2 separate regions of the Homo sapiens genome follow, and region 2 is linked to region 1. The links are contacts of gene promoters, found by promoter capture Hi-C in blood cells and fetal thymus (Javierre and others, 2016). All regions are on one chromosome and are shown on one strand. Each heading gives the region's core, a stretch centred on a gene start or on the middle of the fragment in contact. The rest is flanking DNA. Distances are from core to core; before and after follow the strand shown. Region 1 holds the start of ZMPSTE24 (zinc metallopeptidase STE24). Region 2 overlaps RLF (RLF zinc finger).

What was found. The method cuts DNA at HindIII sites, captures the fragments that hold promoters and counts their contacts. A CHiCAGO score of 5 or more calls a contact.
Region 2: a contact is called between a fragment that was not itself captured here and the fragment with the promoter of ZMPSTE24 in region 1, in 4 of 17 cell types (naive B cells, megakaryocytes, naive CD4 T cells and 1 more). The highest score is 6.7, in naive B cells.

The regions. Positions count from the first base shown.
Region 1 is chr1:40,255,339-40,261,399 of GRCh38, forward strand. ZMPSTE24 (zinc metallopeptidase STE24) reads left to right here and starts at 2,898. Exons shown (of 10, transcript NM_005857.5): 1 at 2,898-3,056; 2 at 5,501-5,647. The coding sequence starts at 2,934. RefSeq lists enhancers at 2,129-2,258, 2,489-2,758, 2,839-3,118, 3,209-3,308. The HindIII fragment of the contact is 15,848 bases long and covers 778-6,061 here.
Region 2 is chr1:40,207,404-40,213,464 of GRCh38, forward strand. The region is part of intron 5 of RLF (RLF zinc finger); the gene reads left to right. Among named protein-coding and RNA genes, the nearest start is that of TMCO2, 38 kb to the right of the region's middle. The HindIII fragment of the contact is 168 bases long and covers 3,458-3,625 here.

The DNA of each region.
Region 1 (6,061 bases), core at 1,648-4,147:
TGATGGCATGGATCTGCACTCCCCCTCTTCCTTACTCTTTCCACAGCCTCTTGCCATTCCTCAGATATGATAAGCATTGGCCAATCTCAGGGCCTTTGCACTTGCTCTTCACTCTGACTGGCAATTTCCTCAGATATCCACACAGCTTGTTCTCTTACTTTTTTTGGGGGACTCAAATGCCAGTTAATCTGAGAAGGCTTCCTTGACCAACTTATGTAAAGCAGCATCCCTCACACCAACATGCTGTATTGCCTTTTTGCTGCTTTTTCTTCATAGCACTTATCACCACTTCCACTTTTACTATTAAATATTTGCTTATTATTTATCAAACACTGCATCCACCCCAGCTAAGAATGTAAGCTCCAGGAGAGGGGCTTTGGTTCACTGCTATATCCCTGGCACCTGGAAATGCGTCTGGCATTTCGCAGACATTCAGTATTTATTGAATGAATGAATTCCAGTCAGTCTTGGCTTTTTGACACCTCGGCCTCCTACTCTCCTATCTCTTCAGACACATGGTGACAGATCAATGCTATGATGCCCCTCTCCCAAGCAGTAGCTAACCTTTATTGGGCACTCAGGGCCATCTACATTGCTAGGAGCTTTACATGAATTTTCTCATTTGATCCTAACAGTATGAGAAAGTAAGTACATACTATGTTATTCTCATTTTACTGATGAGGATCTGATGCACAGATTAAAGAACGTGCTAATACATGGTGCGGCCGTGGCTGGCAATCAAGCAGCTTGACTCTAAACCTGTGCCCTTAGCCACAAAGCTTGGGTGGTAGAAGCTCCTGTGAGGCTTTGGACTCACAGACAGCTGAAGTCAAGAGTGAAGAGGGCATAGCAATGATGGCCTGAGGGAGAGAAAATTTTGAAAAAGTGTTTACCCCTTATATATTTAAGTTGGTATCTAACTGGTTCCATCATAAATTCAAATAGTTGCAATGGATGTAAATTCTTGCAAATTGTAAATACTGACATTTTAAGATAAAACTGTTAAATCACTCTTTATAATGTATCCAAGAGAATCTACATAACAACTGAATAACCACCATTATGCATTAAAACATACACTAATGAGCTCTTCAACATTGTTCTTTTATTATCTCTAACATATTTAGATTGTACTCTAACAAAAAATGTTATTCAAATATAGTACTTTGATGTTTGAACAACCTTTTCTTGATCACTTCTTCGCAATAAAAATATGACATATGTAGTAAACCTTAAAAAATTTCGTGTAACTTTATGGCTCTACGCTGGAATTCTTCTGAAGTGAGTAATCATCACAATCATCTTTAGTATATAATGGATCAAAATGACACGATTGCAAATATTGATAACACACAGTTATAAAAGGTGAAATTCTATTGGGAACACATCTCTTAGTGAGATAGATGGGGCTGACCCACCAATTAATTCATTTATCTGGATGAATAGTTCCTACTGGTAGATTAACAGGGTTCATTTTCAATTCTGTTGTTTTCACAGATACAAGTGCTGAGAAATGGTTTTACATAAATAGGTGAGAATGCTAGTAGTTTTGTTGTAAGCATGTCAATCAATCGTTTGGTTTCTTTCCGAGTTGCATGCCAAAAACCAAATAGTGTTCCTTCATCAGCTGACAATTCATGGGCCACCATTAATTTTGTTGAAAGCAAAGAACTGGAAACCATCTGACTTGAAAAGAATTTGTTATCCTGTTATTAGAGTCATTCACTTTCTCTAGTGACTTTTAATTATACTAATTACTCTCAGAGGCATTTAGGCAGGGTTGAGAAATTCAAGATATTAATTTCAACACATCTTTAGCATCACAATATCACAGTAATTTAAATATATTTTAGTTGTAGCTATTTAGCTCACTTTATTGTAAATAATAATTATGCTAATTAGCAACGATAGTATGTTTAACCAATTAATCATCAGATTAACTTTCGGTCAGAATAATGGACTTCAATTTTTAAGTCAAAGCAATGTACAGGCGTCCCAGTCACCATATTTCACTTCTGAATTCCAAGAGAGAAATGGCGTTGCGCCTTACTGACGCAAATATGTACCTAGATAAAGTAAGACGCTTTCATTTCAGGTATGTCTAACCCACGCTATCCTTGCTTTGTTCCAGGGCACTCTCGCAGGGAAAACGCCGCCTCTGACTACACTTGGGGTGGTTAAGACGAGATCTTCAAATGAAAATTCTCAACGCTACCGTCCACTCTCTCATACGCTTGAATTCCGAACACCCCAATACTGGCCAAAAGACTCCATTTCTCATGCTTGGTCTTGCTTTTGAGGTAGCTCTAACTCAGAGGCACGATTTTTAGAGCCTGGGAAGTCGGCTGCTGTTCAGTCCTTCCTAGCCTCCTCAGGCGGGAGCCGCGGCCCACTCAGTCAGTTGCGGCCCACTCAGTCAGTTCCGGCCCCAGCCCCGACTACCTGTCGCCTTGTTGGGGGAAGGAAGGCAGATACCGCAGCCCAGTCAGGGTAAGCCGCTGACCCAGAGGATGGAACTGCGGCTCTGGAGATTAGAAAGAGGAGGACTTCGCCGCGTTCACTAGCCCAGGAGGAAAGCCAGAACCCTAGGCCGGAACCCAGCGTCAAGACGTGGGGGAAGAATGTTGATGCAACACAGCTCAGCCGGGCCCGGAACTCGGCGTTTGGGTCCCCGCCCTCTTTGGGCCGGAAGTGAGGAAGGTGGGGCTGGGGCTTTTCCTGTAGAAACTAGGAGGGACTAGGGAGAGTCTGCAAGGGGAAGAGTGTGTCTGTGACACTGCCAGCAGCGCGCAGAGGGAGGGATGGGGGCGGGTATCGGCGTAGGGGCCCTCGGAAAGAACGGATATTGCTGTGACACCGCGGGGACGCTCTGAAGGGACGAGTGTCGGTGTGGCACCGGTGCACGCTGAAGGAGCCGGCGGAACCGGGTGGCCATGGGGATGTGGGCATCGCTGGACGCTTTGTGGGAGATGCCGGCCGAGAAGCGTATCTTCGGGGCCGTGCTGCTCTTTTCCTGGACAGTGTATCTTTGGGAGACCTTCCTAGCACAGCGGCAGGTGAGCCTAGACAGGGTCCAACCTGACCCCCATACCCGGCCAGCCCTGGAGTAGCCTTGGCTTCGACCCTGAGACTCTTGATTGCTTCGGTCCCCGCGCCAGTCTCGTCTTTGTGGTCCCTGCTGAGTCTCGTAACTTGGCCCGATGGCGGACTGTGGCTTTGAGGAGGGTCTTGGTGCGTCAAGGAAGTTTTCTGTAACGTTATCATGGGACCCAATCCCTTTAGGGCCTGGAGGAAGGCTTGGGCTCTTGTGCCCTCCCTGCAGCTTCCTTGGGATCCTTGGGCCCAGACTTGGCCTCCTTTATCTTTGGAATAAGCCTTTAAAAGGATTTAGACACCCAACTTCCTCATGACATTTATGTAATCATGCCTAACCATAGGATTTTGCAGTCCTTCCAAGAACTTGCACTCTTGTTTCTCCTTAAAGTGCATATATTGTTTCTGCTTGAAAAAACAAACAAACAAACAAAAAACTTATCGGGCCCGGCGTGGTGTCTCATGCCTGTAATCCCAGCACTTTGGGAGGCCGAGGCGGGCGGATCACCTGGGGTCAGGAGTTCGAGACCAGCCTGACCAACGTGGCGAAAACCCGTCTCTACTAAAAATAGAAAAATTAGCCGGGTGTGGTGGCGCGCACCTGTAGTCCCAGCTACTTGGGAGGCTGAGGCAGGAGAATCATTTGAACCCAGTAGGCGGAGGTTGCAGTGAGCTGAGATTGTGCCACTGCACTCCAGCCTGGGCGACAAGAGTGAAACTCAATCTCAAAATAAATAAATAAATGAAATTAAATGAAATATATTTCTCGTTTTTCATAAAATCAACATTATTTTAGTTTAAATATTAAAATGGTAAAATAAAAAGTGAAAGTTAACAATTTACCTGAGATAACCATGGTTTAGAGATCTGAACTTTTATTTATTTATTTTTAATCTTTATTTATTTATTTAATTTTAGAGTCTAGCTCTGTCACCAGGCTGGAGTACAGTGGCGTTATCTCGGCTCACTGCAAGAAACTAGGAGGGACGAGGGAGAGTCTGCAAGGGGAAGAGTGTGTCTGTGACACTGCCAGCAGCGCGCAGAGGGAGGGATGTTCAAATGATTCTCCTGCCTCAGCATCCCGAGTAGCTAGGATTACAGGCACGTGCCACCACGCCCAGCTAATTTTAGTATTTTTAGTAGAGACGGGGTTTCACCATCTTGGCCAGGATAGAATATTTATTGTATTTAGAGACAGGGGCTCACTCTGCCACCCAGACTGGAGCACAGTAGCATCATCATAGCTCAAGGCAGCCTCGAACTCGTGGGCTCAAACGACCCCTCCACCTCCACCTCAGCCTTCTGAGTTGCTAGGACCACAGGTGCGGATCACTGTGCCTGGCTAATTGTTTGATTTTTTTGTAGAGATGTTGCCCGGGGTGGTCTGGAGTTCCTGGACTCAAGTCATCTTGCCGCCTCCACCTCCCAAAGGGCTGGGATTACAGGCATGAGCCACCGTGCTCGATCTCCCCTCAGCTTTTATTGGCACACAACAATATATAGGGAAAGCATGTTGTAGTGGCCCATTATTTTGTTTGGTATCCATTCTCTGTATTACATTTCCTGGACTGAAATTACCCTTACCTTTTATAATTTAGTATAATGAGATAGTTGATCTTTCTCCTTTTTTTTTTTTTTTTTTTTTTTTAAGGAGATAGATTCTCTGTCACCCAGGGTGTAGTGCTGTGGCACAATATGGGCTTACTGCAACCTCTGCCTCCCAGGCTCAAGTGATCCTCCCACCTCAGCCCCCCAAATAGCTGGGACCACAGGTGCATACCACCACACTCTGCTAATTTTTGTATTTTTTGTAGAGACGGGATTTCACCACATTGCTCAGGCCAGTCTTGAACTCCTGGGCTCAAGGAATCCTTCTGCCCCTGTCTTCCAAACTGCTGGGATTACAGGCGTGACCCACCGTGCCCGGCTGAAAATTGGTCTTTTCTCACAGACCTGATATGTTTCCATCTGGTGATCCTCAAGTTTCTGGCATTTAGGACCAAATTTAATGAGCAGCCTCAGTATCTGTTCATACTCACAGTTAGCATGTGTGCTTCTCCTTTGCATGAATTTGTTTTCCGTATTATAGGAGGTATGTAATACCCAGAATGAGTAGTACATGTAACAAAGTTGTGATGTTAACAGCTTTGGTTTACATATACAAACTGAAGTGTGATGACAACCCTGATTATAGTTTTACCAGTCAGGTCACCTCAGGTTCTCTTGTTCTGCTTTTATTTTCCTGCATCAGTCGTTTCATGTACTTGATCAAGTGCAATATTTGTGTAGGTATAAAGCAAATTCAACAGATATAAGTGGCAAGCTATAAACCATTCGATGTTTGATCATAAATGACTATTGTAATAAACAACTATTTCACTAAAGTGTTTTCTTTAAAATATTTCAGAGAAGGATATATAAAACAACAACTCATGTACCACCGGAGTTAGGACAGATCATGGATTCTGAAACATTTGAGAAATCTCGACTCTATCAACTGGATAAAAGCACTTTCAGCTTCTGGTCAGGACTCTATTCAGAGACTGAAGGCACTGTGAGTAATTTACTTCTTGGAGAGACAGTCTGTCTGGTTGTTTTCATTTTCATATTTTTGTAACACAAAAGAGGGTACCACACTTACAAGTCCCAGAATGCTTTCTTAACCTTTGTTATTGATAGTAACGGCTGTGGAGCAAAAAAGACAGAAACATAACTGCTTAGTCAGTTGAAAACTATAGAATATGGGAACTATTACCCTGAAGCCAGGTAGGAAAAAGATCCTCTTCCATTAGGATCCAGCTGAGATGTCATGTCTTCTAAGCAACCATTTGAAACTCCCTGCCTGACGAATGTGGATAGGGTAGCATTCTATCATTATTCCTGTCAGAGTACTTATCTCATTATGTTGAATTTGCCTGGATTTTTTTTTTTTTCTTCTGGCACAGTCTTGCTCTGTCACCCAGGCTGA
Region 2 (6,061 bases), core at 2,292-4,791, 47 kb before region 1:
TTTATTTTGAAATATAGTTATGCTATCTGTATATTTATAAAAATAAGAACCAAGATGAAACCAAGTACAGTGTTGTGATTCAGATTTCTGTATAGGTTGATTGCATCCTGGATCAGTGCTTGGGTCAATAGTTATTTCAAATGGCTAAGACCCCCTGCTATGGCCCAGATCATATCTCCCACTGTGAGAATCTTTTATCAGATTTTTTTGTTGAAAATTGTTTTTTTTGGAGACAGAGTCTCTGTCGCCCAGCCTGGAGTGCAGTGGCGTGATCTCGGCTCACTGCAGCCTCCACCTCCTGAGTTCAAGCAGTTTTCCTGCCTCAACCACCTGAGTAGCTGGGATTGCAGACGTGCGCCACTACACCTAGCTCATTTTTGTATTTTTAGTAGAGACAGGGTTTTGCCACGTTGCCCAGGCTGGTCTCCAACTCCTGACCTCAAGCAATCTGCCTGACTCAGCCTCCCAAAGTGCTGGGATTATAGGCGTAAGCCACCACGCCTGGCCCCTTGTTGAAATTTAAGATGTACTTATATCTAAGATACTTCCCAGTGGCCAAAATACTGACTCCAGGAATTTGTGATTCTGTCCTGGCTCCTAGTAGTCTTTGCATTTCTATCAACTAACGTATTTTTTCAAGTGCTCACAGACTTTATTCTGGGATGGATATTGGGTTAGCAACATTCCACTTGGAAGCACTGTGGCCTGGTCTTTGAGATTTAGTAGTAACTTGAATCTGAGAGGATTGTCTAGGCAGGGAAAGTATAGATAGAGACAGAATGCTAGTCATCTTTGTTTTGGGGAATGACCTTACACAGGAGCACAGATACGGGATGCAGAGATGAAACAGCCAGTTGGTGGCTATGAAGTGGACAACATGTAGTTTCCTCAAATGGGGATTGAAGCTATGACCTAGGGCCTCATTAATAAATGTTCTTATTTGTTAGACTTTCTGGTGATAAAGAAATCAAAGGATAAAATGCTTTGCACTGCCTGTCTTTTCAGACTTTCTACTTGAATCTTAAATATAACTGCAGAAAACATTTATTGCTCACTTGTCTATTCCAAGCACTGTGCTGTGTGCTTTAAATGTGTCGGTATCTAATCCTTATAAAAATCTATTAATTTAGGCCAGGTGTGGTGGCTCATGACTGTAATCCCAGCACTTTGGGATGCTGAGGAGGGAAGATTGCTTGAGGCCAAGAGTTCAAGACCAGCCTGGGCAACATGGTGAAACCCCATCTCTACAAAAAAAAATGCAGAACTTAGCTGGGCGTGGTGGCATGTGCCGTAGTCCCAGCTACTCGGGAGGCTGAGGTGGGAGGATTGCTTGAGCTCTGGAGGTGCAGGTTGCAGTGAGCTGAGATCACACCACTGCACTGCAGCCTAGATGACAGAGTAAGACCCTGTCTCAAAAACAAAAAAACTTTGAATTTTATAGAAATTAACTGAGGCTCTGAGAGATGATATTACTGGCGCATAGTAGTAAGATGTCCAGTAAGTGGTGTGCCCAGGGTTTAAATCCAAGGTGATCTGCCTCTGCTTTGCTTTTATACATATTAATCTGACACTCACACATCTCATGTACATGATCCAACTCACTGTCACTGCCAACCTTCTGGTTCTTTCTGGATTCTGGTTCTTAAAGTAGACTTGTTGTGCAGGCAAGTTTTTATTTCTTTTGTTTACCCAGAGGGGAAACTTCAGAAAAGATGGGAGGGGACTTTGAAGTTCTGAGGCTTGTGGGTGGCTCATTACTGGACTGGATTTACTGAGGAGCTTAGGTAGAGTATGTTTTTCACAAGACATCTAGAGAAGTGAAAGCAACAATCAAAATATGTAGGCTTGAATCTTGACATTGTCATTTACTAGCCATACAGCCTTGGCCAGGTAGCTTTATTTTCCTTATCTATAAAGTAGGCACAACAGTAGTAGCCGTCTCACAAAATGGCTGGATAGTTTAAATGTGATAATATCTAAAGCACTTAACACAGTTCTTGGCATATTTTAGACACCTTACAAACATAGACCCTAGTATAAGAATTCTTTAAGCCTGGGGTGCAGAACTAGGGAGGATCCGTCGAAGTCAAGATTGATCAGAGGTGAAACCTGAATTTGCACAGAGAAACAATGTGGTATACACAGAGATAGCCTCCTATGACTTCATCTACATTTTTAAAAGCAGTCATATGGGCTGGACAGAGTGGCTCATGCCTGTAATCCCAACACTTTGGGAGGCCGAGGCGGGCAGATCATGAGATCAGGAGTTCAAGACCAGCCTGGCTAACATGGTGAAACCTTGTCTCTACTAAAGATACAAAAAATTAGTCAGGTGTGGTGGTGTGCGCCTGTAATCCCATCTACTCAGGAGGCTGAGGCAAGAGAATCACTTGAACCCAGGAGGCAGAGGTTGCAGTAAGCCAGGATCGTGCCATTTGCACTCGAGCTGGGGCGACAGGGCGAGACTCCGTCTTAAAAAAAAAAAAAAAAGGCGATCATAAGAGACCAACTATAAACCTGTATGCTAATTTATTTATTTGCAGTATCAGGTAGTGTAAGGAGATAGATTGCTTACCTCTAATAGCAGCTGCAGTATTTTATGTTTGGGAAAGTTAATCAGACTGAGATGTAGTAATGGTTATTCTCAGCACCTGACACATGCCAAAACAATTCAAAAGCAGCAGCAAAACACTACATTTTGGGTTTGATTCCTCATCCTGTAATAATAACAACTTTACTCTCTCAGCCTTTGCTTAATTAAAACCCGTTTTGTTTCTAATGTTGTATTAGGCATTGGCAAATACAGCAAACTGTATGGCCCAGTTTGTTTGCCAAAAATAGTTACAGAAAGAGAAGTACTAAGCTCAATGATTACTGCCCTAAATTCAGTAGAAGTGTAAAGATAGAGAATTCTGTGTTTATAGAAAAATTGATCCTTGAATTGGAGCTTTAAGTAATGGTGGGGTTTGGATGGGTGGAAAGAATGGTTTGGAGATGACTGAATGGTAGTAAAGCACAGGTACTAATGAGTACTTTGCAGGGATCCACTGGAGAATAAATACCCTGCTTAGGGCAGAGTGGTTATTGAAGTCTTGTGAGAAATAAGACCTGTTGGGGTTGGAAAAGAAGGGCTTGGAAACTCCATTGCATTAATGGTTAGATTTGATGCAGTAGAAATTAAGAAGGCTTTGCAGTTAGGAAGTGACATGTCTGAAGTGGTGTTTTAGGAAGACTAGACAGAAAGAATATGTATTATGTTTAGGACAAGAGATTGTAGCCAGCAAGAGGACAAAGGACAGGACTTGCTGACCGGGCAAAAACAGAGGAGGATGTACAGAGATACCTTCAAGAGGCTCATAAGGCTTCTAGCTTGGGAGACTGGAAGAATAGTGGTGCTCTGCTGCTAATTAGAAGAAAGAATGGGTGGAGGGACAAGGGAGAGTCTGGGAAGATGATAAGCTTTGTTTTATACATGATCTTTCCTGGTTTATTAATAACAATGTTTGGAAACAGGATTTTTCCTGATTGTGTTGAGTTTGCAGGGAACTGTGTTATAGGAAATACGATTTGATACTATTCACAACAGGGGGTTGGCACCCACCCAGCTACCTGTTTTTATAAATAAAGCTTTACTGGCACAAAGTCTTACATTCATTTCTTGTCTGTGGCTGCTTTTGTGCTACAGTGGCAGAGGTGAGTAGTTGTAACAGAAACTCTCTGGCCAGAAAAGCTAAAAATATTTTCTGTCTGTCCTTGTACGAAAAATATTTGCTAACCTCTGCTCTACAAGAATTAAATTTTCCAGTCTATTTCAGTGGTTTAATATCGGTTGGTCTAACCCTCCGTGTTCTACACGTGATGAAACTGAAGCCAAGCTGATAATGTTTCCAAGGCCCTTCCTGCATTAAGCTAATTAGAAAGGCCAAGCCCAGCTGGAATGCAGGTCACCTGGCTCCTTGGTCAGCCTTCTTTCCACTCTACCACCTATTTCCATGTGTTAGACATTGATAAGCCATGGTCTGATTGGGAACATCTTGGTGATATATCATTCTGTTCATATTTATACATATAGGTGTGATTTAAAACATTTTTATCATGATGTGGATTAATTTGTTAAATATACCAATGCAAAACATTTAGTACACATAAAGTTATCTTAAAATTATTTTAAAGGAACCCTAGTATCATCGTATCATCATAACTAGTCAGTCTTTTTTTTTCCTTTCTTTTTCTTTGAGATGGTGTTTCACTCTTGTTGCCCAAGCTGGAGTGCAATGGCGTGATATCGGCTCACTGCAACCTCTGCCTCTCGGGTTCAAGTGATTCTCCTGCTTCAGCCTCCCGAGTAGCTGGGATTACGGGCACGTGCCACCACGCCTGGCTAATTTTTGTATTTTTAGTAGAAACGGGGTTTCACCGTTTCTACTGGTGACCAGCTGGTCTCAAACTCCTGACCTCCTGTTATCCGCCCGCCTCGGCCTCCCAAAGTGCTGGGATTACAAGGCATGAGCCATCACGCCCAGCCACTAGTCAGTCTCTTATCCTAGTGATACTTTTCTTTTGCAAGTGTCAACAGAATTAAAAATAATCTGTAGTTTGCTTTGGAAAATTACTAGTGAGTCACCAGATGTTGATTAATTAGAGTTTAAATTCAGCATACGTTCTAAAGTAGCAGAGTTACACACATATTTGCCATCTACTTCACCTGAGTTCAGGAGAAGAGTTAACTTGAGCAACAGCTGGGAATAAAAGTACATTGTATGTTGGTACCTGGGGGTATCCCAATAATAGGCATATGTAATGGGAAACCGCTGCTGGGGAAGATTTAGCCAGACACATACAATTAAGATTAATTGACTGGGTCATCTGAAAGTCAAAATTCAGAACCTAGTGGGTAAAGAGTGAGTCCTTTCAGATATCTGGTAGGTCTGGAAGGCAGAAGAATTTCATGGAATCCTGGAGTTTTAGGTTGTGATACTTTATTTATGTAGAATTGAATGAGATGACATTGCTATTAACTTTACATATTAAAGGATTTTAATAAAAGTTATAGACTTGGCAGTGGCTCAGTGTCCCAAGTGGATGTTTCCTATATTTTTTCATTACTGAAAGGGGAAGTCTTTGCAAAGATCAGGTTTTCAACATAGAAAAGATAACATTTTAAACATCAAGCACTTCTATTTTAAAGAGCTCAAGAAATCTGTCAGCAGAGTTCTTGGCGCAGTTAAGGCAGGGGTCCGTTTCATTCTTAATCCCTGAATGAACTACATCTTCGGTATCTGACGTGGTTGATAGACACAATAGCAGATGGTTGTTTCTTTTCCTGATGGGGAAAGGAAAGGACAAACAGGATCCAATTTACTTACCAGCCTAACACTGTTGGGAATTGACACAGTCACTAGGTATAAATGATAGAGCAGATACCTTTAAACAGGACCCAGTGGGAATTCAGTTTGGGAGTAGAAGAAAAAGTAAACAGGAGTATAGAAATTCCAGATGTAGTTTAAGTAAGAATCAAGATTAAGATGAACTCTGAACAAGGAATAATTACAAAAGGTTTAATTAAGTTTAAAATATGCCACCTCCACCACCTTCTTTTATGCTAATTGGCTGCCTGTTAGACCATTGGTGTTTAATTGCCTGATTATTTTGAAAGTCTTAATACTTCTACTTTATCCTTGTGATCATACAAGGAATGAGATAATACACTCAGAATACACTAATGACAGAAAGTCTGTGTAAAGAAATTGAGGATTTGCTTGTTTAGGTATTTTATCTCCTAAAGCACAGTTCTTTCAAATAGCTTTGAAGAGACGTCTTCCCAGAACTTTGTATGCATCTGGATCTCACTTCTGATCTTACTTTCATGGGTTATGTGTGGGTATTTTGGTTGGTGTATGATTGCACTGGAGGGGGTCATTATGAAGAGTCGATCAGACATATTGTCAAGAATTCAGCAGGACGTTTCAGCCTTCTTTCAGATACACACTGTGATAGGGTTTAAATGGAAGCATTGGTGACCATTTATTTCTTTAAGAAATATACAAGGTCCGTGCAGCAT